Linked DNA regions of Homo sapiens: all the other regions are linked to region 7. The links are contacts of gene promoters, found by promoter capture Hi-C in blood cells and fetal thymus (Javierre and others, 2016). All regions are on one chromosome and are shown on one strand. The core of a region is centred on a gene start or on the middle of the fragment in contact, and the rest is flanking DNA. Distances in the headings are between cores, read along the strand shown. Region 1 has its middle 4.6 kb from the start of SPRYD3. Region 2 holds the start of NFE2 (nuclear factor, erythroid 2). Region 3 holds the start of SMUG1 (single-strand-selective monofunctional uracil-DNA glycosylase 1). Region 4 has its middle 14 kb from the start of MIR3198-2. Region 5 overlaps EIF4B (eukaryotic translation initiation factor 4B). Region 6 holds the start of CBX5 (chromobox 5). Region 7 holds the start of ATP5MC2 (ATP synthase membrane subunit c locus 2).

Region 1 (3,861 bases), core at 1,285-3,784, 590 kb after region 7:
CCAAGTTCAGAGGTACACGTGCAAGATGTGCAGGTTTGTTACATAGGTAAACAAGTGTGCCATGGTGGTTTGCGGCACGGAGCATCCCATCATCTAGGTATTATGCCCAGCATCCATTAGCTATTTTTCCTGATGCTCTCCCTCCCCTCAACCCCACAAAAAATTTCATAATGTAAAAAGACATCAAGGGTGCGGATAAGTTAAATACAGACTTGTTTGCTAAATTCTCTAAATACTCAATCTGTGTGCAATTTCTAGGGCAAGAGAAAGATTGCTTTAAGGCAAATAAAAAGAATGATTGCCTTATGTTGGGGATGTGGTAGGGAATAAAAACAAGAAATATATTATTATAACAAACAGCACAAGCTGAAAAAGAAAAAAGTTAGAAACAAGTTAATAAAATAATAGATAAAAGATTTCTGGCAAGTCATGAAAAGACTAGATTTCCTCTCTTTCCTCTTCCTGAGCTATGAGAATACCCCAAGCCTAAGTCTGGGTTCTTTCCAAAAACAACCTGGGGCTGTTTGAGGGCTGGGTCTTATCCTTTTGGGCAGGCCAGCTATGCACTCCTAGAGCCTATCTGTGGCACAGCTGTTGAAGAAGTATCTTGGGCTCTGAACAAAATATCAAATATAGTAAATATTTTTTTCCTTTCCTAAAATTTTGAGCTGAGGGCCTATAATTTAATATTAAACAGCCAGAGTACATTTAGGAAGATAGCAATTAAATTTCATACATCAAAATCAAGTATATGGAGAGTCAATATATAGAAATCAATTGTACTTTTATATACTAGCAATAATTTTTATATACTGGAAATTGAAATTTTAAAATAACATTAACCAAATTGTAAAAAATATGAAATACTTAAGGATAAACCTGACAAATATCTACACTCTAAAAACCATGAAATATTGCTGAGACAAATTTAAAAAGATGTAAATAAATGGGGAGATATACCATGTTCATGGATCAGAAGATATATTGTTAAAGATATATTGTTAAAATGTCTATTCTTCCAAAATTGAGCAATAGATTCAATGTAATACCAATTAAAATCCCCAGGGGCTTTTTTTTTTTTTTTTGAGACGAAGTTTAGCTCTTGTTGCCCAGGCTGGAGGTCAATGGCTTGATCTCGGCTCACTGCAACCTCCACTTCCCAGGTTCAAGTGATTCTCCTGCCTCAGCCTCCTGAGTAGCTGGGATTACAGGCATAATGCACCACCATGCCCAGCTAATTTAGTATTTTTAGTAGAGGTGGGGTTTCTCCATGTTGGTCAGGCTGGTCTCGAACTCCCAACCTCAGGTGATCTGCCTGTCTCAGCCTCCCAAAGTGCTGGGATTACAGGTGTGAGCCACTGTGCCAGGCCGCCAGGGGCTTTTTCAATAGAAATTGGCAAGCTGATTATCTCACATGGAAATGCAAAACAGAAAGTTGGAGGACTTATATTACCTGATTTCAAGACTTATTATAAAGCTATAGTAACAAATACATACAGATAGAGGAGCCAGGCACTATGGCTCACACCTGTAATCCCAACAGTTGGTGGGGGCTAAGGCAGGTGGATCACTGAGCCCAGGAGTTTAAGATCAGGTCTGAACAACATGGTGAAACCCTGTCTCTGCAAAAAATATAAAAATTAGCCAGCTGTGGTGGTGTCCACCTGTAGTCCTAGCTACTCAGGAGGCTGAGATGAGAGGACTGCTTGAGCCCAGGAGGTGGAGGTTGCAGTGAGCTGAGATCGCAACACTACACTCCAGTCTGGGCAATAGAATGAGACCCTAAATTATATAATTATAGACTTAAATGCAAACCTAACACATAGAACTTTTTTTTGTTGTTTGTTTTTTGAGAGGGAGTCTTGCTCTGTCACCCACGCTGAAGTACAATGTCACGATCTCGGCTCACTGCAACCTCCGCCTCCCAGGTTCAAGCGATTCTCCTGTCTCAGCCTCCCTAATAGCTGGGATCACAGGTGTGTGCCATCACACCTGGCTAATTTTTTATATTTTAGTAGAGACAGGGTTTCACCATGTTGGTCAGGCTGGTCTCAAACCTGAGCTCAAGCAATCCACCCACCTCTGCCTCCCAAAGTGCTAGGATTACAGGCGTGAGCCACCATGCCCAGCCCGTTTTTTTTTTTTTTTAGAGGGAATTTCACTCTTGTTGCCCAGGCTGGAGTGCAATGGTGCAATCTCGGCTCACCGCAACCTCAGCCCCCTTGGTTCAAGCGATTCTCCTGCCTCAGCCTCCCGAGTAGCTGGGATTACAGGCATGCGCCACCACGCCTGGATAATTTTGTATTTTTAGTAGAGATGGGGTTTCTCCATATTGGTCAGGTTGGTGTCGAACTCCCGACCTTGACCTCAGGTGATCTGCCCACCTCGGCCTCCCAAAGTACTGGGATTACAGTTGTGAGCCACTGCACCCGGCAGAACTTTTTTTTTTTTTTGAGGTAGGGTCTCACTCTGTTGTCCAGGCTGGAGTGCAGTGGCAGCACAACCATGGCTCACTGCAACCTCTGCCTCCTGGGCTCAAGTGATCCTGCCATCTTAGCCTCCCAAGAAGCTAGGATTACAAGTGTGTGCCAACAGACTGGCTAATTTTTAAATTTTCTGTAGAGACCAGGTCTCACTGTATTGCCAGGGCTGGTGTTGAACCCCTGGGTTTGAGCAATTCTCCCTGCCTTGGCCTCCCAAAGCACTGGAATTACAGGTGTGAGCCACCATGCCCAGCCTGAACAACTCCGTTAAAAACATGAGAAGACAAGCTGCAGACTAGAAGAAAATATTTGTAAAGCACATATCTGATAAAGAATTTGAATCTAGAATATATAAAGACTTTCAAAATGCAATAAGAAACAATTTTTTGAAATGAGCAAGTGATTTAATCAGATACTTCACCAGAGAAGATATATGGATGACAAATAAGCATATGAAAAGATGCTCAACCTCGTTAGTCATTAGGGAAATGGAAATCAAAAGTGAAATGAGATACCACTTCACACTAAGTGGCTATAATCAAAAAGAGATAATAACAAGTGTTGTTGAGTATGTAGACAAATTGGAACCCTCATACACTGTGATACCTACCTATTAGGAAGGCTGAAAGTAAAAAGAATAACCATACCAAGTGATGGCAAGGATGTGGAACAACTAGAACACTCACACACTGCTGATAGGAATGTAAAATGATACAACTACTTCTGAAAACAGTGTGATGCTTTTTAACCAATTAAGAACCGTACATCTACCATGTGACTGAGCCATTCACTCCTAGATATTTACTTAAGAGAAAATGACACTTTGGGAGGCCAAGGTGGGCAGATCACGTGAGGTCAGGAGTTCTGGACCAGCCTGGCCAATACGGTGAAACCCCATCTCTACTAAAAATACAAAAAAAAAAAAATTAGCCAGGCGTGGTGGCACATGCCTGTAGTCCCAGCTACTTGAGAGGCTGAGGCACAAGAATCACTTGAACCTGGATGGTGGAGGTTGCAGTGAGCCAAGATCATGCCACTGCCCTCTAGCCTGGGTGACAGGGTGAGACTCCATCTCAATAAAAAGAAAAAGAAGATGAAATATGTCCATACAAAGACTTGTACATGAATATTCATCATAGCTTTATTTGTAATAGCCAAAAACTGAAAAAATCCAAATGTCCATCAACAAGTGAATAAATAAATTGTAATATATTCCAACAATAGCATACTATTCAGCAATAAAAAGGAACAATCGAGAGGCCAAGGTGGGAGGATCACTTGAGGCCAGGAGTTTGAAGTTGCAATAAGCCTTGATCACGCCATTGCTCTCCAGCCTGGGCAACAGAGCAAGACCCTGCCCCAAATAAATAAATAAATA
Region 2 (3,407 bases), core at 883-3,382, 620 kb before region 7:
CCGACCTCAGGTGATCTGCCAGCCTCAGCCTCCCAAAGTGTTGGGATTACAGGCATGAGCCACCGTGCCTGGCCTATTTTATTTTATTTTATTATATACACCTTATTAATGTAATTCCCTGACTAGACTTGACTGAAGATACAGACTGTCTTGCTCATCTTTGTGTTCCTGGGATGTAAAACATAGTAGACACTCAATAAATATTTGTTGAATGAATGAATGATGAGCCTTGTGTTACCCATAATTGTCTATGCAACACCAGTATCCTGAACTGATAATTCTTATTCAATAAATGTTTGTTGACTATCTATAACCTGATATCATTATATAGTCAGCCACAAGTGTGACTGTTACCATTCTTCATCCCCTCTGAGTGGCCCAAATAAATATGCAAATGAGAGAATTATATCTGAGAGCCTACATATGTGACCCAGATTCATGCCCAAGTCTGAAGAGATTCTGAACCCACATGTAACATGTAATGAAGGCATTGGATTGCCTCCTGTCTTACCTTGATCATGCATGTGCAGTCATGATCTACTGGAAAAGGGATGGAATTCAAAGCATTTAACCATAGGTTTGGCATGGGCATTGGCCAATTCCAGCAGAAGCAGGCAGCACAGGAGGCTCCTTATGGTACCAGCATTGCCTCTTTACTTCCATGGTTGTGTTGCTGGGTTGTTGGGGATCTTAGAGGAGAACTAGGCTATTGGTGGAGTCGTGGGGGACACTTAGAGGGCTCACAGCAGCTGCCTTTTATCAACTAGGACTGAACATTTTCATTATTTTAACAGCAAATACAATCCCATCAGAGCATGCTGGTTGAATGCCAGTCCTACTCCAGAGTGGCACCTATCTGCTTCCCCAGTCTTCAGATGTTTCTAATTTAACTTGAACATTGTAAGAAGAAAAAATGTAAGCTGCAGATGTCAGGATTGAAGCTAGACATATAGAGCTGAAAGCCATTACAAATTAGGAGGAAGAAAGGCTCTTTTCTCACAGTCTGTGGAGAAAGATGTTTGACCTGGGGCTTTGGTGGTGTAGCTTGCAGGCAAAAAGATGAATAAGTGGGCTGGGTGAGGTGGCTCATGCCTGTAATCCCAGCACTTTGGGAGGCCAAGAGGGGAGGATTGCTTGAGCCCAAGAATTCAATACCAGCCAAGGCAATATAGTGAGACACCACTTCTACCAAAAAAAAAAAAAAAAAAAAAAATTAGCTGGGCATGGTTGCACTGACCCATAGAACCAGCTACTTGGGAGGCTGAGGTGGGAGGATTGCTTAAGCCTGGGAGTTTGAGACTGTAGTGAAACATGTTCACACCACTGCACTCCAGCCTGGGAGACAGAGTGAGCCCCTCTCTGGAAAAAAAAAAAAAAAAAGATGAATAAGGGTACTTACTGGCCTAACAGAGTTGGGTGCCATGTGGCTGGGGTGCTTTGCCTGGGAGAAAGGAGGACAAAGGACACCTGGGGTCCCCTTTACGGGAGGTGAATAATCTCCCTGCTGGGTGGCCCCCCACCTAACTCCCTTCACACACTGACAAAAACCTGGCCAAGAAAGAATCCTTTGTCCTGGGACTTCTGAGGCTGAGGGGGGAGGGGAGAAGGCTACAGGTGAAAGGACACATCAAAGCAGTCAGTTGCCCCTCCTCCTCCAAATAGTTCCCCTGCCCTTGTTCCCAGAGCCCAGGTTTTCTGTAAATGAAGGCTATACCCTAAACGTCCAACTGCCTAGACAGCTGGGAAGCTAGACACCTGGTCCTTACCTTCAGCTGCCTTCCACCTTGATATGACTCAGTTTCCCTGTCCCTAGGAGAGCCGTGGGGACACAAGGCGACGACAACCTGTATAAAGTTTAAAGGTCACATTCGAGTGGACCATCAGGTTGGAATTCGTCAAATGCATGGGAGAAACGCAGACCTGGCTGGACTCCTGGGCTGAAAAGGAGGGCTGGGAGAGGCTTGGAGCCATGTGTGCCCCCGCTGGCCAGGAGCAAGGTGGGGGCGGGGTGTGGGCAGAAACCACATCGGGCTCAAGTTTCCTCTCTTGGCCGAAAGGGGCAGGAGGAGAGGAGAGCCACGGGGAAAGGGGAGGGTTGGAGGAAGGACTGAGAACTCAGGCCGAGGGCTTCAGACGCTGGTGCGCCTGCTTGGGGCTCCTGTGCTCAGCTCAGCCTGAGCTTCCACACTCAGCGCTCAGCAATGGCCCGGGGGCGGGGCGCGGTCCTCGCAGATTCTCAAAGGTAGCCGGGATCCTCGTCCAGCAGTGTCAGCTCAGGCTCAGCCTCCCCAGAGACAACACCGGGAGCCTCATCTCTCTCCTCACCCTGCTGTGACTCCACCACAGGTGCCTGAAAGGCAGGGTGTGTGTGGGGGGGGCGGATTCCAGTGAGATCCGAGGGGCAGGCTGGGGGGTGAAGGAGGTGAGGGGGGAAAATAACCAACTTTCGGTATCCTAGGAGACCTCAGACTTTCTAGATTGCCCCTGGTTTAGGAATCTGACATATTTGGGAACTCCTCTAGGAGAAGACCTAAGTGGTTTCTTGGGTGCTCTGGGATCCTTGGGGTGGAGGCTGTGAATGGGGATCAGAGAGGGGTCTCCAGAGGCAAGGCACCGCTGAGGGGCTGGGGAGTAGCCAGGAGGAATCCTTCAACTGGTGGGCTACCCTGAGGGAACCAATAGACTACCCTTTCCCCAACTCCATTCCATTACTCTGCCCTGTCTAGGCAGCTGAGAAGGTTTAGGGAAAGCTGAGGAATTGGAAACACTGGATATCTGAACCTCTGAGAAGTGTTGCAAGGTGCGGGGGTTGGATGGGAGATTGCCTCTGGGTTGTTGGCTCCTTTGCCCTTTCTCTTCTCTGTGCCCAGGGGCAGTAGAGATCAGCTGGACCTGGAGGGAGAAGGAAGACATCCCAACCCCAGCATAGTTGCTTCTAACTGGAACTCTTGGCTGCTTGGGAAATAGGGGCTTGGGAAGCAGTGGAAGAGAAGAGAGGAGGTATCAGAACTGCTGGGGCTGGGATCCCCTAGACATCGGTACCAAAGGACTGGAGTTTGGGGTCCAGGGATGAAGTGACACAATAGCAGAAACTCGTCCCCCTCTTCTTTGTTCTCACACATTTGTTTGAGTCATGCATGTCCCTAGGGCACTGAGCTCACTATGCTTAAATCTCTCTCCCTCCTTTTTTTCCCCTTCATTCTGTCTCATCTCTGTGTGTCTCTCTCTCTTCGGGAGTTCTCCCTAATCTTTCTAAATAGGTTGCTTACCGGTTAACCAATACCCCAAGTTTTACTAATCCCTCCTCATCCTTTCACTGCACCTATTGACACCTGGAGAGGTGAGGTGGTCAAATAAGCCTCAGAAAAGGGATCCTGAGGCAAGCCCCCTCTCATCGTTCCCCCTCG
Region 3 (3,639 bases), core at 14-2,513, 510 kb before region 7:
TCACGACACAGAACCAGACCCAGATAGAGCACAAGAACAAAACTAGGAATAGGACAGATTTGGACATAGATATTGGGATGGGGGAATGGTGGGGGAATGGACTGTTAGGTGCAGCCATGGGATGAGGATTGATCAGGGAAGCCTTCCTGGACAAAGTATTTGAGGGAGAAGATTTGGATGGAAGAGTGATAGCTAACTTTATGTGTCTACTTGAGTGGTCTAAGGGACACCCAGATAGCTGGTAAAACATTATTTCTGGATATGTCTGTGGAGTGTTTCTGGAAGAGATTTGCATTTGAATTGGTAGACTAAGAAGATCACCCTCATTAATATGGGTGGGAACCATCCAATCCCTTGGGGGCCAGTAGAACAAAAGAGTGGAGGAAGGCAAATTCTCTTTCTTCATGAGCTGGGACATCTATTTTACCTGCCTTTGGACATCATTGGAGTTCCTGGTTCTTCGTCCTTCAGGCTCTGGGACTTAGCAGTGAGCCTCCTCCCCTGCTTTGGACTTTCCTGAATTATACCACCTGTTTTCCTGGTTCTCCAGTGTATAGACAGCAGAGCGGGAGACTGTGGGACTTCTTGGCCTCCACAATCCTGTGAGCCAATTCTTGGAATAAATCTCGTCATATAGATAGATATCCTGTTAGTTCTGTTCTCTGGAAAACTCTTGACTAATACTGAGGTTATAGGGTTGGGCAGATAGCAAGGCAGAGAAAGAAGTCAAAATGGTGACACTCTGGAGATGGGCTTGGACAGTAATGGGGGATGCCCCTTGCTAAAAAGTTGTTAGGAGCTACCAGAAATGTCTTCGTGGATGTTCTGTATAAGTAATGGCAGGCTGCAAAGGAGAAGTCTCTTATACCCACGGTGGCAGGGGGCCTAGCAATGGTCTTTAGCTATTGTTAATACCTTCAGGTGGGTGAGGGATTGGGGATGGTTGAAGCTTCCTGATTTGCAATCCCTTTGGGAAAATAGTGAATGAACTTTTGGAAGGGCGATGCCCTTTAGGGATAGAACCCAGGATTTCCTAGGTACTTACAGGCTGTGGCTTTTCACTTCTCAAGACTTCCTGATTTAACGCTGATGGAAAGATTAAACTACAATTCCCAGCGATCTTTAGGGCTAATTTAGTGCGCCTTCCGGGATTGGAGCATTTCCGGCGGAAGTGGCTGCGGGTACGCCAATCTCCTTCCCTAAACAATGTAGACTACGACTCCCACTGTCCTTAGCGCCGGGGGTTGGGTTTGGGGTGGGGGAAAGGAACCGGAAACGGGATGGGGAGCTGGACCAGGTGAGGAAGTAGGGGGCTGGGAATCCGGGACTGTGGGGGCAAGTTGACGGCTCCCAGGGTCGTCGGGGCTGAGCCGAGAGGGTGGTTAGAATTTCTATATTTTGGGGTCCCTCCCTCCGTATGGGGTAAGACTCAGTGCAGGGAGAGCCCAGCCTATGAAACCGCCTGGGAGGTCTGCAGGATCAAGGCTTTCCAGTCGGCCGGAGCCAGCGGGCGCCCCCGGAGGTTTTGTATGGTGCCTTAGTAGTCGGCCCCTTTGGAACCAGATGAAATGGTCTTTTTGAGTTTATGCTTTATTATTATTATTGTTTATTTATTTATTTTTCTGAGACGGAATTTTGCTCTGAATTCCAGGCTGGAGTGCAATGGCGCGATCTCAGCTCACTGCAGCCTCCGCCTCCCGGGTTCAAGCGATTCTTCTGCCTCAGCCTCCCGAGTAGGTGGGATTACAGGCGCGCGCCACCATGCCCAGCTAATTTTTGTATTTAGTAGAGACTGGGTTTCACCATGTTGGTCAGGCTGGTCTCGAAGTCCTGACCTCGTGATCCGCCCGCCTCGGCCTCCCAAAGTGCTCGGATTACGGGTGTGAGCCACCGCGCCCGGCCTATGCATTATTATTATTATTATTATTATTATTATTATTATTATTATTATTTATTATTATTATTATTATTATTATTATTTCGTTTAAGGATATTTATTATTGTCCCTGGACTCCCGGAGTGCCTCCAAAGGACAGGGGAGTGCATATGTGATTTCGATTCCTTCCTCACTTCCCGGATTTGATGTCAGAGAAGTCTGACATCAGTCTGAAGTCGGCCCTTGGTGGTCAGCCTTATCGCTTGGTCCAACTCCGCTGTCTTTGTGCTTAATGTAGTATGACACCGTATTTTATAAAATATCTACATTTCTTAAGCCTCTGGCTCTTGGGGCGACTTTGGGTAGAACTTACAAGTTCCTCCTTTGGGTTCTCTTAGTGTTTTGTTCCGGGTATTAAAGCTCACATCACACTGTATTACAGTTAGTTGTTTATTTGCCCTCACAGCAGATTATGAGCTTACAGAAAGCCTGGCCTACATTTTACTCTTTTTGGATTTCTTCCTCATCAAGAGACTGCTGCAGTGCCTGTCATGTAAGAGACTCATAAGTATTGAAAAAAAAAATGAGTTAACAGGTGGTAGGTTGGATGGAGTATGTGATTTTCCATAGAGAAGAGAGTTAAATGAGTTGCTCAAGAGAACCTTCTTAGAGATGAAACAGGAGTAGAATTCAAATCAATTGACTTCCAGCCTGTGGCTCTTGCTATGAGATCAGGCTTTGAAGTTATGGAACAATGAAAGTAGTATCTTGCCACTCTTTTCCCCAGCCTTGCTGTTTCCAACACAGGTGTCTAAATGTCAAAGGTGGGCTCAAGACTTCTCGAGATTCTAGAGCTGGAGCAGCCAATCTGCTAATGTTGGTGTTGCATGGGGAGATGCAAAGCAAGGTCCCCTGAAACACTGGCGTTCTCCACAGCACCCTTCTCAGCTTTTGTATGAGCCCAGTTTGTCCTGGGTAGCCACCTGGACAACAGATCAGTTAAAGACTACTGAGACAGTCAGGGAAGGACTTCCTAAGTTGGGCCTCTGATTTCTTTTCTCTCCCACTTCCCCTAGGCTAGGGTGAGAAAATAGGTTTATCGAGCTGTTGTGTCAACCTTGAGTTCTTATCTTGGAGAAGTCACTCCTGACCCAGGCAGAAAGTTGAGAGGAAGGAATGACAATGGTCCTTGTCGCATGGGAGGCACACATATGATGGGCACAGACCCAGAGTCTGGAAAACAAGCAGAGTGCAAAGTGGGCAGCTAAGCCTTGAGTGAACTCAGGATATAGAAGTGGAGAAGGATCCATCAGGAGTGCCTCCTTGGTAAAAGCTGTTTATTTTATTTTTATATTTACAGATGGGGTCTCATTATGTCAGCCAGGCTGGTCTTGAACTCCTGGCCTCAAGCAATTCTTCTGCCTTGGCCTCTCAAAGTGCTGGGATTACAGGCATGAGCCACTGTGCCCAGCACAGAAGGTAGTTTTAAACAAAAGTGAAAAAGAAGATGGACATTGCTGAGCAGGTGTTTGTTGAGTACCTAATAAGGGCCAGGACCTTGGGCTTATGGAGGGAGATTGAACAAGGCCTGGCTCTTGATCTGCCCAAGTTTAGCTGGGGAGGCAAAAGGAATTCATTAAGACGACGGTAACCATGGTGACACACAGTGGTTCTCAGCCTTCACCAACCATCAGAATCACCCTGGGAAGCTTGTTTAAAATACAGATTCCCAGGCTGGGCACGGTAGCTCACGTTTGTAATCC
Region 4 (3,811 bases), core at 67-2,566, 540 kb before region 7:
CTGAAATAGTCAAGGCCTCACTCATTTATTCAGTATTTGAGTATCTCCTGGTCTTCAGACTTTGTGCCCAGAAGTGGGATACAGCAAAGAACAGACATATTCTCTGTCTTAAGTGAGAGCTCACAATTTGGTAAGTGCAACTGACCAAATGTTTTTGCAGTAAGTGCTAATAGATGTCATTATCAATTGCCAGGGGTGAGAGGAATCTCAGAGGTCTTTCCAAAGGAAAGAACGTCTGTGCAATGATTTTCAAAGAATGTGTCTGTCAAACAGACAAGAGGGCAGAAGAGCAGTCCAGGTGGAAGCAAGGTGCAGGTAAGTCCAGGCAGAGTGAGAGAGCTCATGAGGAGCTTAGGGACCCTCAGAGCAGTTTTGTGTAACCGAAGCGCTGGCTGTTGTGTGCCTGAGTCTGGCCATGATGCAGAAGATAAGGCTAGAGAAGGGGGATGCTGACAGAACGTCAGGGGCTTTCTTTGGCAAGGGTGAACAATATAAGCTTTATTCTGCAAGCCTGGGAGTCCAGAGTTTTTAGCTGTTGACCTCCATTAGACCAATTTTTTAGCAAGGTAACCCCAGAGGCAGGACTACCACCTAAGAGGCTATGCACCAGTCCTAGCAGGAAAATCCCACCAGAAGCCCCTGGTCCAAGGCGTCAGGTAAAGATGAGCGCATTCAGGAGACATTGACCAAGTCGAGTCCAAGAGAAATGGAGGAACCAGAATCTGAGATTGCAGGCTTGGCCTGCGCCAGTGCGAGACAGACATGCCCAGAAGGTGGCTCGAGCCAGGGGAGCCGGGTCCGGGCAGGACTGATCCAGCGGTTACTCAGGGAGGCGTGAGAACGCGCCAGTACCCGGGACGTGAACAGCCGCGGCGGAGGCGCGCAGGGAGAACGCCTGCCCCGCGTGGGGCCTGCTCGCCCAGAGCCGCCAGCCACGAATTTATGGCCCAAAGCCGAATGCAGCTGTGCGCAGCTGGGTATGCAAATGTATGCAAATTCGCGCTGCCCGGCCCGGGCTAGGTTGCGAGCGGAGTCAAAGGGTGGGGGAAGGGGCGCAGCATTGTTACTGTTCTTGCGCTCCCAGAGGAGTTCAGACGCGGTGCGGGAGGGGATGCAGGGGGAAGAAATACATCTTCCCTGTCCTGACCGTCCCGCCTCAGGACCGTGACAATCTATCGGGACGAGCGTGGGTTCCCTCCATGTCCTCAATGACTTGTGCCCTCACGCCCTCAGCCCCACCCTGCGTAAGATGCGTGCAGGAGGAAGGGTCCTGACACCCAGAATACCTGAGCCCCTGTTGGTCTGAGCGTCCTTCCTTCACTGCGAGCGGGAAGGAGCCGCAGGGTGGGTAGATGATCCCACACCCGCCCGGGTCTCCCAGAATTACCCCTCCCCATAGCCAGGGAGGGGGTCGTCCGGAAGACCTGATTTCTTTCATCCCTTTATTGTGACCCGTCCTTCTGCCTCCCATCCGCTTCTTGAGAAGTCCCTACAGAAGTCTAACCATAGTCACATTTGCTATTGTTTCTGTTTTATTTTTCCGGGTGGTTTAGTGAGAAGATTATTCCCAAAGTCCCAAATGTTGGGTTCTGAGGGTGTGGGAGTGGGGCCTGGGCATCAACTCCCGCCCCCTCTCCCCCACCCAACGACCAAAGAATAAGTCCCCACGCTAGGCAAGAACTGGAAGGGAGTCTGGGCTGAGGCTGTCATCTCCCGGCTCTGGCTTGTTTTTTTTCCCGCTTTTTTTTTTTTCCCTTGCTGACTCTTCCCACAATGGCCACAAGGGGTCTTCCTTGCGCTAAGAATGGGAAATCCGGCGTCAGGTTTGAGCGCTGTGAGGGTGGGGCGCCTAGCGATGCTTCCTCTCCGCGGTTTCCGAGCGCCGAGACCTGCAGGCGTCCCACCTCCCCGCCCCTCCTCGGTGGCTTCACTCAGTCGCAGACGACTTCAGTTCTCTTACCCCACGCTCCAGACTGGAGATTGGCATTTCAAGATCTCCTGCTCCTTCCCCTAAGCCTATGGAGCAACCGGAGGGCTGTGAGCTGAGACAAGAATTCGGGCCAGACATATAGTAGGCGCTCAATAAATGCTTTTCAGATGAATGACAATGTGGCAGTGTCCTGTTCAGAAGCTTGGGCAGGGAAGAGATGACTCGGGTGAGTTGAGCAGGACACCCCTCCTCCCAAAGCAAGAGGGTGCCAAGAGGCGGCTCAACTCCCTACCAGGGAAACTGAGGCCATCTGTGGGACTTACATATTGATACAGCAGGGGAGGTTCTGAAGTGACAGGGGCAATTAGAAGGGAGGGGTTAGCCAATCAGAAAGCTGTCATGGATTGATCTGACGTCGGAAGGCGGGAAAAACGGAAGATCCAGGCCCCTAAAGGAAAGCTTTGTTAGAACGGGAAAATGGGATGTGAGCGTGGAAAAGGGGCTGGAGATTTGGATTGTTTAGCTCAGAGAAGGAAAGTTAAGGCAGCCCCTTTCTCCTGTGAGGTCAGAAGTTGTTAGGTTTAGCTGAAGCTGCAGCAGGAGGAAGGGTGGTCAGACACCAGGAAGGACTTCCCCGTTGGAGTCAGACGTGGTGGCAGAGGGTGAAGGGGTGATGACGTCGTTCCCGGGGTGGGAGGTGAGTTATCTGAAACCCTCTTATAATGGGAACCCGTCAGGGGTGGTGGGGGCGGGAGATACAGTTAAGGGTTAGATGCAGTAGGTGGAAGCTTAGGTGAAGTCGGCTGCCCTTCCCCCACGGAAGCGGCTGCAGGGCCCGAGAGGTGGGAGGTTCCTGACCAGGTGCTCTCACGCTCACTGCCCACCTGGATGGACACCTGGGTGGTCCCGCCACACACCCCCACTCAGGGCTTGCAGGAAGTCCTTCCCCAGCCGGATGGGGCGAGGTGTGTTTGGATGAACCGTAGCCTCGGGTTGCACCCGGGTGGCGCAGACCTCCTCGAAGACCCTCACGTGGGCTCCCGTGGCAACTCGCCAGTCCCATCCCCTAGCTTTGGCGCATTCAGGGCCGCTCCTGAAATGTCCTCCCTGCAACCCTAGAAAAGGCTCCTCTGGGAAGCTTGCCCTGTTCTCGCCAGCCTGGTCAGAAATCCTATGGCTCTTCTACTTTGTTTCTCTGGGTGACCTGGGTGAGCAGGAACCACACCTTGATTAGCACATAGTAGGGACACCAAATAAAGTTTTGGGTGGAGGCCTGGCTTTAAATCATGCACTGTCCTAGCTGTGTGACCTCGGTTTGAAGCCCCATGTCCTGATCCGTGAAATGGGTACTTCTGTCTTGCTCACTTCTTAGGCTTTTTTTTTTTTTTTTTTTTTTTGAGACAGAGTTTTGCTCTTGTCGTCCAGGCTGGAGTGCAATGGCACGGTCTCGGCTCACTGCAACCTCTGCCTCCCAGGTTCAAGCGATCCTCCTGCCTCAGCCTCCCAAGTAACTGGGATTACAGGTGCGTGCCACCACGCGCAGCCAATTTTTTTATTTTTAGTAGAGACAGGGGTTTCACCATGTTGGCCAGGCTGGTCTCAAACTCCTGACCTCAGGTAATCTACCCGCACCGGGCTCCCAAAATGGTGGGATTACAGGCGTGAGCCACCGTGCCTGGCCTTCTTACGCTATTTAAAGGACTATGTGCCTGAAATAACCAAAGGGAAAGCATTTTGTTTTATGCAAATGCAGGCTGTGGGAGTCCAAGCCATGCAGACACCCGTGTGCACAGGGGTGGGTACACCCACATTCACACAGGTTGAATCTCTTGGAGGGGCTAGGTCCGCGTCTTTGGAGGCAATCAAGCAAAAGCTGGAGAT
Region 5 (3,821 bases), core at 65-2,564, 660 kb after region 7:
ATGTACCTACAGTCTCAGCTATTTGGGAGGCTGAGGCTGGAGGATCACTTAAGCCCAGGAGTTCAAATCCAGCCTGGGCAATATAGCGAGACACTGTCTCTTAAAAACAAAAACACCCAACACATTTATAGAGCCTCTACTACTACTATGTACCAGCAAAATTGCATAAAGCATGCTTTGTCTACAATCTTAGGTTCTTTCACTCAGTATTACCTTCAGATAAATCAGTTCTTCCAGAGATACCCTCTGACTTCCCTTTCCCACATCATTATTTATATACTTTGAACCCAATTAATTCTATTGCTGATTTTTCCTCATTTCATAGTAGAATCTACAGTTGAAGGATAACAATGATTTTTAGTTAAAAATACCCAAAACTATATTAAACACCACTATAATGAAATCTCTAGTAACAAAGTAACTCTTAACTATGGACCACAACAATATATTAATAGTTAATCTAGTAAACATCAAATAGTTAACAATTGCATGGTATTCTTTTTCTTATCCAGACTGAGTAAAGTTAGAGACCAGTAATGTTAATAAAAATCTAAAAATAATCCAGTAAGAGTAACTCTGGAACAAGATTAGACCTTCATATGCATTTAACTAAGTACATTAATTTTTATCTCTATTTCACACTGACTACAGGTTATCATGATGGTAATCAATTATGAGGCAGCAAAACTATTTCTAAGAGGTGTTGATTTCAATCATGTCATATGGCAAAATAGGACTACAGAAATATGGCACAAATGGCACTAGAAATTGCCTTATCAATAAACAATAAGGTGTTTTTGGAGTTAAAGGAGGAAAAAAGTCTTTTTTCTTCTGAGATATAAGCCCCTCAAGTCCTGGGACAGGAAAACCTTTGTGGGCAGTGTTGACAAGCAGAAGGACTAGATATTTATTGTCACTCTCCTGTAAAATATTCCTTTGTAGGAAATGTTTCCAAATCCTCTTAAATGAACAAATATACCATTACAACACTTCCCTGAAAATGAGATATGCCTTTAATACTAAACAAACTTGATTTTTCTATTTGCCTTTATCAGGCCAGATTACTTTGAAAAAGCAATGCCATAAGAGTTGAGGCAACACTGTGGGTAAATCAGTGTAAGACTTAATTAGAGACCTGGTGTGTGGTGGGTTTCTTCCACAACTTTCCACCTAAGTACCTATCTAAATTATTGGGGCCTACTGAATTTGCTGAAGTGTGACTTGCTAGATGTTCGATGTTAAGTGATACACTGTTAAATAATGCAGGCCTTTATTTGTAGATATGGGAATCTTTGAAGTGAGCCTCTCAACCTAAAAAATACCAGTTTGATCAATAAACATGAGATTTGTGAACTTACACCCCTCATATCCCCACTCTTATTTTCTTTACCTCTTCATTGAGACTCAGGGCACTGAGCAGGGAATCCAGGTCCTCAAATTCAGCATAACCAAAACCTTTCAACCTCTCTGGATTGCTGGGTTCACGTGGTAAACGCACTGCACTGATCTGAAGGAATAAGAATCAACAACAAAGTTTCCCAGCATTCTTCTTCATTTGTCATTTTTTGAGAGGACTACAAAAGCATTACTGTATGTGCATGAATTTTTCTGAATACACAAGAACATGGTTGTCTCAGGAGGAAAACTGATGCAGAGGGATAGTAGAAACTTTACTAAATGCCCTATTATACCTTCTGAATTTTGAACTGTATGAATTTAACTCTAAAAAAAAAAAAAAAAAGATTAATTCAGGCCAGGTGCAGTGGCTCATGCCTGTAGTCCCAGCACTTTGGGAGGCCGAAGCAGGTGGATCCTCTGAGGTCAGGAGTTCAAGACCAGCCTGACCAACATAGTGCAACCCTATCTCTACTAAATACAAAAAATTAGCTGGGCATGTAATCCACTGTACTCCAGCCTGGATGACAGAATGAGACTCTGTCTCAAAAAAAAAAAAAAAAAAAAAAAAGAAAAAAAAAAAATATATATATATATAATTTTGATTTTATTTTTTTTCTTTGAGATGGTGTTTCACTCTTGTTGCCCAGGCTGGAGTGCAATGGCGCAATCTCGGCTCACCACAACCTCCGTCTTCCAGGTTCAAGCAATTCTCCTACCTCAGCCTCCCAAGTAGCTGGGATTACAGACGTGTACCACCACGCCCAGCTAATTTTTGTATTCTTAGTAGAGACAGGGTCTCACCACGTTAGCCAGGCTGGACTCGAATTCCTGACCTCAAATGATCCACCCGCCTCAGACTCCCAGAGTGCTGGGATTACAGGCGTGAGCCACCATTCCCGGCCTTAAATTATATTTCTAGTTGTTTTTTCAACAGCAACTGCCCATTCCACAATTAGTCTTTTTTAGACATTATCCTCAATATCTAGTTAATTATTACAACTTTTACACTTACATTTAATCCTCGAAAGAATTCCTTAATTGACTCTTCTGTAACATCATAGGGTAGGTTTCCTAGAAAAGCAGTGTAGGGTGGCGATTTGGGAAGACGGCTCCGGTCGATATTGGGTTCCCGAGCAGCCCGTGGAGCAGTGGGAAGGATGGAACGGTCAATTGGAGGCGCCCTATACACATCGTCATCGTTACTGTGCCAAGTGGTCGAAACTAGGATAGAGGAATGAATGTAAGAAATTAGAAGAAACTTCTCTCACTACTGTCATAGAACAAGAGGACCCATGTTAATTGCCAAATATTAAACATGCTATACAAGAAAACCAGACCAAAAAAAGTGGGGGTTCAGTAATAAGGGCACTTTACGAAGAGAAGCTTCTGAGATTAATTATGACACCTTAATCTTTATGTAAGCAAAGAAATATTATTCCATAAATACAACTCTTTATGGAATATTACTGTGTGCCAGCTACTTTATATTCATTATATCCCATCTTATCTTTTTAACAGTCCTGTGAGGTTGTCCCCCATTCTACAGAAAAGCAAACTCAGATTTCAGACAGTAATTTGCCCAAGGTCACAGACGGTAAAGCTAGGATTCAAACCTGGGTCCCTCTTACTCCAGGTATATTTAACCACTACTGACAACTCTTGTATTCCTAGTGGTGAGTTTGAAGTTGAGTATTTTTCTGCATGGTCTATCCTCCCTTAAAAACAACAACAGGCCTGGCTCGGTGGCTCACACCTATAATCCCAACACTTCGGGAGGCCAAGGTGGGTGATCACCTGAGGTCAGGTTTGAGACCAGCCTGACCATTATGGTGAAACCCTGTCTCTACTAAAAATACAAAAATTAGCCAGGTGTGGTGGCATGTGCCAGTAATCCCATCTACTTGGGAGGCTGAGACAGGACAATCTATTGAACCGGGAGGCGGCAGTTGCAGTGGGCCAAGATATTGTGCCACTGCACTACAACCTGGGCGACAGAGTGAGACTCCATCTGAAAACAAACAAACAAAAATATCACAACAAAAATCTTTTCCTACAGCACTGTCCATGAATTTGTACTTCAGATACCAACACCTATGGGAAGTACGACCTATATAAAATTTCCTGTTTTGGCCGGGTGCAGTGGCTCATGCCTGTAATCCCAGCACTTTGGGAGGCTGAGGCAGGTGGGTCATGAGGTCAGGAGTTCAAGACCAGCCTGGCCAAAATGGTAAAACCCTGATTCTACTAAAAATACAAAATTTGCTGGGCGCGGTGGCGGGCACCTGTAATCCCAACTACTCAGGCGGCTGAGGCAGGAGAATCGCTTGAACCCCGGGAGCAGATGTTGCAGTGAGCAGAGAGTGCGCCACTTGCACCCCAGCCTGGGCAATAGAGACTCTGTCTCAAAAAAAATTTCCTGTTTT
Region 6 (3,620 bases), core at 994-3,493, 600 kb before region 7:
ATCAGGGTTTAGAATGCCATACAGATTGTGGAACCCTTACTAAATGCCACTATCTGATACTTACTGACAATCTTATCCACGGAGTCATGGTCGTCAAAGGTTACAAAGGCAAAGCCCCTTTTCTTGCCACTGCCTCGGTCAGTCATGATTTCAATCACTTCAATTTTTCCATACTGTTCAAAATAATCTCTTAGGTGATGTTCTTCAGTGTCTTCTTTAATGCCACCAACAAATATCTTTTTCACAGTTAAGTGGGCACCTGGTCTTTGAGAATCCTAATAGGAGAAAAACCATAGGTTTAGATTAGCAAAGCCTATACTCGAATAAAAAATTTTGGTAAGTTTAGAAAACTCCCGAATCTTAAGTCCATAGCAGCACATATCCAAGTAAGTTTAAGAAGAAGAAGAAAAAAAACCCACTCACTTCTCTGGAGACAGCTCTCTTTGGTTCCACAACTCTTCCATCCACCTTGTGTGGCCTTGCATTCATAGCTGCATCCACCTCCTCCACAGTGGCATATGTGACAAACCCAAAGCCCCTGGAGCGCTTGGTGTTTGGATCTCTCATTACCTGAGAACAGTGTTAATTTATGTAACACAAAGTCTGACCGCAAAAGCTTTTGTCATTTTAACTTTGAATAGGGCAATAGGAAACTTTACACCAGCCTTTTATAAAAAGTCGTCCAGTTTCCCACTACCCTAGATTTAAGAGGTAGCTTTTAAAATCAAAGCAGGACGTTCCTTTGCCAACAAAGCTCTAACTATAATGCTATTAACTACTTTCATAAGCATTCGGAGAAGACTGCACCAAGATAAGCCAAGGAAATCGGCTGTTTTACTGCTTTGTCCCTTCCAAATCTTACCACACAGTCCGTGAGCGTTCCCCATTGCTCAAAATGGCTCCTCAGGCTCTCATCAGTTGTTTCAAAGCTCAACCCTCCAATGAAGAGCTTCCTCAGCTGTTCGGGCTCTTTAGGAGACTAGAGTGGGGGGAGGGGGAAGTGTTAAATGGGCTACAACACGAAACAATTTCCATCGAGGAAAAGAAAAACTAGACACCAACTGTGTACCTAGCACTTATTGTTCGTTCAGGTCGCAACAAGACACGTGCTTCTGCCTATCAAGGGAGGCCGTATGCTGGAGTTGGGAGTGCTAGGAAATCGCAAGCGCATGCGTCCCTAGTCGCCTTCCGACGCACGCGCAACAAAGGCTTGGGCGGTAGGGGTGCATCTCCACAATGGGACTAATCGCTCTTTAGAAAACTCGCTCACCAAGGCAAGGTTTAAAAAAAGACAAAGATCCTGTGTGCCTAAGAATTTTGCTACGAGTAACGAGTCCCGCATGATAACTCATGGTTGGCGGAGAGCGGCCTCATGGCGATCAAGAGGACAAAATGGCGACTTGAACTTTGGGAGGGGTAGGCCGTGGCAGCGACCGAAGGAACTGTAGAATGGGCTGGTGCAAGGAACGAAACCCAGCAGCATCTTACCGATTCAGGAAAGGGAGAGGAAAAAATTCAAGTGGGAAAGCGCGCCTAACTCACCTCTGACTTAGACATGACGGCAGGGTGAAGAGAGACTTTAACGATGCTTCTTCGGCGGCGTCCACGGGCAGAAAGGAGCAAGCTGACGAACGTATCTGCCAGCCTACCTTCGCCCTCTCTTTTTTACCCCGCCTCCTCGCTTTCGGCATTGGTAGACTCCGCCCTGGAACAGCTCTGATTGGATACTTGAAATCGCTTCCCCCTGCTATTGGCCTGTGGTGCCACATTGCTGTGTAACGTCATTCCTTCGGTCGTTCTACGCCGTCTCCACCCCTTGGAGTCCATTGGTTCCCGAGTAATGTTATTGTTAACCAGTCTGATTGGCCAACCGACCAATCATTCACATTTGAATCTACCTTGGGTGTTTAACATCTTTTTAATCTTCCACGCGCAAATATTACAGTCAAGTCGCTTGGCAAAGCATGATTAACACTATGTATTAGACAAGCAGCCAGGAGGTAACAATTTTTTTGCAATGAACTCTTGTTGACCGCACGTGTAGTAAAATGGCGAGTTTTGCGCAGGCGCATTAAGAAGTTCCACCTGCCTCTGAGAACACGTGAAATGGCGGGCAGGAGTAGGCAGTGAACCTACGGCGCCTGCGTGTTGGCGGGAGTTTGTCCTAGCTTTGCGCATGCGTAGTGGGCGGAGAAAAAAGGTCCGGTCCCAGGATTGGTTGCGCAGGCGCAGGGAAGGATCCGTTTTGGCGGGCGGTTGGCGTTGCGCAGAAGGCGGCGGCGGTGGTGGCTTGTGGTGCGGCCTCACCATACAGGAACAGGGCAGACGTTAGCGTGAGTGATCACTCTCAATCCCGGGTAAGTGGCAGACAGTCTTATCTACCCATAGTAGGTCTTGAACTGACTCCATTTGGGCCCGTTATTGTGTGAAATGAATGGACGGCGGGGTGGGGGGATAGTGAAGGGGCAGCGGTGGGTCGGGCCAACCAATAGAAGAACAGGGGGCGGGATGTTTTAATCCCCGTAGGTTCTTTGGAGCTGTGCAGCCGAAGACTTTGACTGGCTTGTGTATAGGCCAATTGGGTCTGCCTTGAGCTGCCGACTGATCGGCCCTTGGGCCATCGGAATGTGGGAGACGGGTTTTCCCCTTCTGAGCAGCGTCTCACTGAGCCAGTGAGCAGGAAGCGCGCGGTAGGTTGGGCTTCTCCAGGAGGCAGCGGTTTGACTCCAATGGGGAATGCGGGATCGGGCGGTTAAACGGATGGAACGAATCTGGAACCAGTAGACGGACAGCCTAAGGAAAGCGCTGGGACCAGTCGTCCAATCGGCTCTCCAAAAGAGGGAGGTCTTCGATTTGGGGTTGTGAGGAAGGGGAGTCGGTGCCTGTAATGGCGTGTGAGGGTGGATGTTTTATCCACGATGACTTCTCTAACGAAGCCTTTAGGCCTCAGTCCCATACACCTCCTTGAAAGCGTAAGTTTGCTCCTGTATTCCTCGACTTGAGCATTTTTCCCCCGCCCCCTCACCACTTGAGGTTTGGGGAACAGGAGTTGTTTTTTTTTGTTTGTTTGTTTTTAAATAATACTTTCAGAAGTCGCTTCTTTAGGAAGACTGTTAAAATGTTAGAACGAATGGGAGAAATCTCTATGTACTGTCATGGAAAGGCGTTCAAGAAATATCTCCTTCCTGATAGTGCATATTTCTACTGACAAATATGTTTGTAGGTCCACAGAAAAGTTTTGGAAAGCTACACACCAAAGTGTCAATCCTAGGGACACAGTAGGATCGAGGCAGATTAGATCTTTAATGTTTAAAACTTTGCAAGGTTAATAATTTGTGATTAAAATTAAATAAAAAATGAAGTCGATTGTTTTGTGTTTCTAGTCATAATCACATACTTACAACCCCTTTTCTGTTTTATGTAATCCATGTGCCCAGTGCTTTTATTTTAGTCTCTTTCTCCCGGGAACTTTCATATATTTCTTTTCTTTACACCATTGAAGATATCCTAAAGTCCCTCTTTTTGCTGTTCCTTTGAGGATATCTGACTTTGGAATAAAAAAGAAACAAAGAGGGTAATATTTAGGGTTCTGGGGACAGAAGATTCATCCATCACCTGGA
Region 7 (3,860 bases), core at 918-3,417:
CTGTGTGATAAGTACTATTATTCTTCTCAATTTACATAGGAGGAAATAGATTTAGAGGGGGTTAAACAGCTAGCTCAAGATCACACAGCAATTTGGGAACCCAGATTTGTCTGAACGCAGAACCCATTATTCTATGAGGGCAAGGGAGTGTTAAACATCGCAGGCTGTAACAACTTTTGGAAAGAGCCAGCTTTAGCTTCCTCCCAGGCCCCTTCTCTGATCCTCCTCTGGGATTGTTAGCCATATCTGAGTGTCTAAATTGTCGCAACAGCTGCAACAGCCGTTTGGGGGTGGTGGCTCCTAAGAACTGTGGACTTTCTCTGCCACTGAGGATGTGAAGCTGACAGCTTAAAAGAATTCCGTTTTGGTGGGAATGGAGATGTCTGGAGACCTCAGGGGATAAACTTGTGTCTTTGCTAGCCTGTCTTTCTCCTAACAGCATCTCCACAGTGCCTGGCACCACTTGGTACTTGATAAATACCTGTTGATTGATTCCCAAAGATCCCAGTTCCATTTCCCACGTACCTGCCCGCTCGGGGCGCAATCAACAACTAAAACTGGAGATTTGGGGATTTCAGAGGAACCTGTGAGAATCCTGATGGAGCTGGAAATGCGAATTTAGGAAAGACAGGCAGTCTACCACCCTCCTCTTCTCGCCCGCTTCTCCTATTTCTCCCCACTCCTTCCCCTCCCTTTCAGGAGCTCAGGGCCATAAAAATGCAGATGGAGGATCGGTGTGAAATAACGGGCCCATATAAATCCCTCTGCCGCCCGCCTGCAAGATGGATTGGCCGCATTGAAATTCCTCCGCGAGGATAATTAAACTCGGGGCCTCATCCGGGCAAAATTACATTCCTGTAATGGCGTCGCTCGGGGTCCCGGGAAATTGCTCCGTGGGCTTTCAGCGGCGGTTTTTATCGCCGGCCGGGGTGTGCCTGTCTGCGGCTCGCCTCTCCTCCGGGACCGTAAAGCTGCTGCCGTGATTTATCCTCCCCTTCTCCCAAATCCGATTAAATGGAGGAGCTCGGGGCCGGGGCGCCGCGGGGCCCGGGAGCCGGGAGGGGGCGGCGGGAAGGACGGGGCCAAGGAGGGGAGGACAAACGGCCCCTCAGAGAGTGGCGGATTTGCCTTTATTTACAGCCGCGGCTTTCTTTTTATTTTTTATTTTTTATGGGGTTTGGTGAGCTTTTCCCGTCTTTCTCGTGCTGCGTTCAAGCACGATGCAGGGACGGCAGGGGTTTGGAACTGGATAGGCCTTGTCGCCCTGTTCCAAAGGGCAGGGCAGGTCCTGTCTGGGAGACAAGGAGGCCTAGGAAAGATGAGGGCCAGGAAGCCTCCCCCACCTCCTTCCATCAGGGGAAGGGCGAGCGAAAGGGGAGAGAAAACCCACGTTCAGGAGAGCATGGGGGCGGGAGGGGAGGGCGCTGCTTATCCCAACTCGCGTAGTTGAAACCTGAGCAGAGGCTCGGGCAAGCCTGGAGTGACCTCGCAACCTTACAGCGGGTCGCAGGTGCCCGTTATTCCTAGACTGTCCCAGGAGCCAGGAAAGAGGGATTCGGATCATATTTAACCCTATCTTCTGGCTCGCTGATGCTGCTTCTCTCATGGTTTATCACCGGAATGGAAAGGAGGAAACGGGGAGTGGGGGAAAGGGCGAAGCCACCAGAAGCAGCTGCGGCATTTTGCTGACTATTCGCCCATGGAGCCGGTTTGCCATCCAGTGATGCCAGAGTCCCGGCGCGACAGAAAGCAGGACTCCCAAGATCTTCCTCCTGCTGCATTTTAGGCACTGAACCCCAATCCCGACCGTATGTTAACACTGAATTCTGAGTAGGAGTTTTGTTTTGGCAGTGTGACGACTGCGCATGCTCGGAAAGGGGACGCAAGTCCGAGATCCCAAACGCGGTACAGACCAAACCGCAGTCCACGTTACGGATCGGCTTACTCCGCGGAGTTGGCCTCATTTCTGCAGTCGGCGCTCCCTGTAGTTTCTCCTCTCGAACGCCAGGTGGAGCAACCGGCCGGATACCGCCACAGCCCTGGCAGGCGGCGCTGTGATGCCTGAGCTGATCCTGTATGTTGCAATCACTCTATCCGTGGCTGAGCGACTCGTTGGCCCGGGTCACGCATGCGCTGAGCCTTCCTTTCGCTCTTCCCGCTGCTCCGCCCCTCTCTGTCTTCTCTGCAGTGGGAGCAGGTAAGGCCTTGGGACCTAGAGCCCTCTGTGCGCTGCGCACGCGCGCGGGACACCTCACCTTGCGCGGATGCTTTGAGGCGCTTACCTTGCGTGCTCCCACCCTGGTCCTCTCGCCCTTTCTTGCTTCCGCTATCCCTTAGCCTTAGAGTTGGCTCTTCCGCGTGCCGGTGACCTCCAACCGCGCGGGCCTGGCGCCATCTTGGATGTCTCGCAGGGGGAGGATACCTTGGAGCTGGCCAAAGTTAGATCCTGGAGTGCTGCTTTTCACCTGTTCCACCCAGTCCCTGCAAACACTCTTTTCTCGCCCTCTGGCCCTTTCAGATTGTGACAACCCCCAGGCTCTCCCCTCCTATCTCTGCTTTCTCTTCTCATCCTGACTTGTGCCTTCTTTATTCTGAAATCTCCAGACTTTAGGCCCCAGAACCTCAGGTGCTCCGAGCAATGGAGATAGTGGATCGTCTAAAGTCACCAATCCCTCTAGTCAGCACCCCTCAATTTAAAAAGTAAACCTTGAACATGGTAGAAGTGGGAAAAAAAGCCAAAACATCGCCTCCCGTTAGGTTGTGGCTTGGGATAGCTAAGGCAGAAGAGAGAGGCTGGTTGCTTTGGAATCACTAGTTATTTACCAGTACCTTTCTCGCATCCCGGCACGCTGGTGAAGTTGTAAAAGTCACAAATGGTGGGCTAGAGATGAGGGTTTCTGTTGAGGCAGCAGGCCCAGAAAGGTGGGGTAAGGCCAAGCTAGTGGGGCCAGCATGAGACCCTGCCTGCCAGCTTTCCTGTGAAGGATTAATTAACCTCCCCAGATTCTGCTGTTACAAGGAAAAGAAGGTTTAAGGAAAGGAATAGTTAAGTTACTACCCCTGTGACTCATCTACACTGAGGAAAAAGCCCGTGATGATTTTGGAGTCCTGATTCTGGATAGTGCCTTTGCCCAAGTTGTAGGCTAACAATTGCAGAGTTGCCATGGTTAGATAGCCAATGGTGGGATCACTTAATTGCCACCCCTTGTTGTGGGTTTATTATATGCCAGCACCACATTAAACTCTTTATGTATGTTAATTTGTAAATGAACATACTTAATCCCCCTAAGAGCTGCATTTTACAAAGAAGATAATAAGGTATAATTCCCTTAGAAAAGAACCACCCCTTCTTTTTCTAAAAGCCTTAAAGAACTATTGGATTTTGACCCAAGAAAACCTGAATAGTACGGCAGCAAAATTGGGTTAGAGTTACATATAGGCAAAAATCAGAGTTCTAGATAGGACAAGAGTTGAAGACATCCATTAACTTAAAAGTAATTAAGGCTGGGTGTGGTGGCTCACACCTGTAATCCCAACACTGGGAGGCCAAGGTGGGAAGATCTTTTGATGCCAGGAGTTCCACAATAGCCTGGGCAAAAAATAAATTAAGAGCAATTAAGATGTTGGATTCAGAAGTGTTTTAACCTGGGACAATCTGAGTTCAGTTCATTTAATGAAGTGGTATTTAATAGCCCTAAGCATTCACTGAGTATTTCAGCCTGTGACATATTAGAAAGCATGTAACTTAAAAGATCCAAGTTCAAGTCTATCCTCTACCACTACCACAGTTTCAAGACTGGGTTTAGGGTCACGCTCTTGCGTTAAGTATACCTAATAATCATCTGGGAAACTTGTTTGAA

The links. The method cuts DNA at HindIII sites, captures the fragments that hold promoters and counts their contacts. A CHiCAGO score of 5 or more calls a contact.
Region 1: a contact is called between a fragment that was not itself captured here and the fragment with the promoter of ATP5MC2 in region 7, in 1 of 17 cell types (neutrophils). The highest score is 5.0, in neutrophils.
Region 2: a contact is called between the fragment with the promoter of NFE2 here and the fragment with the promoter of ATP5MC2 in region 7, in 10 of 17 cell types (erythroblasts, neutrophils, total B cells and 7 more). The highest score is 13.6, in erythroblasts.
Region 3: the fragment with the promoter of SMUG1 here is called in contact with the fragment with the promoter of ATP5MC2 in region 7 in 3 of 17 cell types (total B cells, M1 macrophages and naive B cells); the score reaches 7.2 in total B cells.
Region 4: a contact is called between a fragment that was not itself captured here and the fragment with the promoter of ATP5MC2 in region 7, in 1 of 17 cell types (naive B cells). The highest score is 5.4, in naive B cells.
Region 5: a contact is called between a fragment that was not itself captured here and the fragment with the promoter of ATP5MC2 in region 7, in 1 of 17 cell types (neutrophils). The highest score is 5.5, in neutrophils.
Region 6: a contact is called between the fragment with the promoter of CBX5 here and the fragment with the promoter of ATP5MC2 in region 7, in 4 of 17 cell types (erythroblasts, M2 macrophages, monocytes and 1 more). The highest score is 6.2, in erythroblasts.

Annotation. Positions count from the first base shown.
Region 1 is chr12:53,082,068-53,085,928 of GRCh38, reverse strand. No RefSeq gene overlaps it. Among named protein-coding and RNA genes, the nearest start is that of SPRYD3, 4.6 kb to the right of the region's middle. The HindIII fragment of the contact is 7,282 bases long and covers 1-3,861 here.
Region 2 is chr12:54,299,740-54,303,146 of GRCh38, reverse strand. It overlaps NFE2 (nuclear factor, erythroid 2), which reads left to right and starts at 2,132. Exons shown (of 3, transcript NM_001136023.3): 1 at 2,132-2,346. RefSeq lists an enhancer at 1,245-1,985 and a cis regulatory region at 1,386-2,360. The HindIII fragment of the contact is 10,882 bases long and covers 1-3,407 here.
Region 3 is chr12:54,186,609-54,190,247 of GRCh38, reverse strand. It overlaps SMUG1 (single-strand-selective monofunctional uracil-DNA glycosylase 1), which reads left to right and starts at 1,263. Exons shown (of 4, transcript NM_001243787.2): 1 at 1,263-1,297; 2 at 2,346-2,429. LOC105369777 (a long non-coding RNA gene) reads right to left here and starts at 1,151. Exons shown (of 3, transcript XR_944984.2): 1 at 1,046-1,151. The HindIII fragment of the contact is 2,636 bases long and covers 952-3,587 here.
Region 4 is chr12:54,215,188-54,218,998 of GRCh38, reverse strand. No RefSeq gene overlaps it. Among named protein-coding and RNA genes, the nearest start is that of MIR3198-2, 14 kb to the left of the region's middle. RefSeq lists silencers at 963-1,012, 2,814-2,999. The HindIII fragment of the contact is 1,635 bases long and covers 499-2,133 here.
Region 5 is chr12:53,017,596-53,021,416 of GRCh38, reverse strand. EIF4B (eukaryotic translation initiation factor 4B) reads right to left here. Exons shown (of 15, transcript NM_001417.7): 3 at 2,411-2,619; 4 at 1,391-1,507. Among named protein-coding and RNA genes, the nearest start is that of EIF4B, 13 kb to the right of the region's middle. The HindIII fragment of the contact is 2,938 bases long and covers 1-2,783 here.
Region 6 is chr12:54,278,745-54,282,364 of GRCh38, reverse strand. It overlaps CBX5 (chromobox 5), which reads left to right and starts at 2,243. Exons shown (of 5, transcript NM_012117.3): 1 at 2,243-2,357. It overlaps HNRNPA1 (heterogeneous nuclear ribonucleoprotein A1), which reads right to left and starts at 1,639. Exons shown (of 11, transcript NM_031157.4): 1 at 1,543-1,639; 2 at 863-979; 3 at 424-570; 4 at 65-275. The coding sequence starts at 1,557. SCAT2 (S-phase cancer associated transcript 2) reads right to left here. Exons shown (of 2, transcript NR_157844.1): 2 at 3,302-3,620. RefSeq lists enhancers at 360-1,118, 1,861-1,920, 1,931-2,020, 2,311-2,360, 1,879-2,638 and 1 more and a cis regulatory region at 544-2,844. The HindIII fragment of the contact is 6,592 bases long and covers 619-3,620 here.
Region 7 is chr12:53,674,390-53,678,249 of GRCh38, reverse strand. ATP5MC2 (ATP synthase membrane subunit c locus 2) reads left to right here and starts at 2,167. Exons shown (of 5, transcript NM_005176.7): 1 at 2,167-2,197. RefSeq lists enhancers at 1,676-1,905, 2,016-2,465. The HindIII fragment of the contact is 5,549 bases long and covers 1-3,860 here.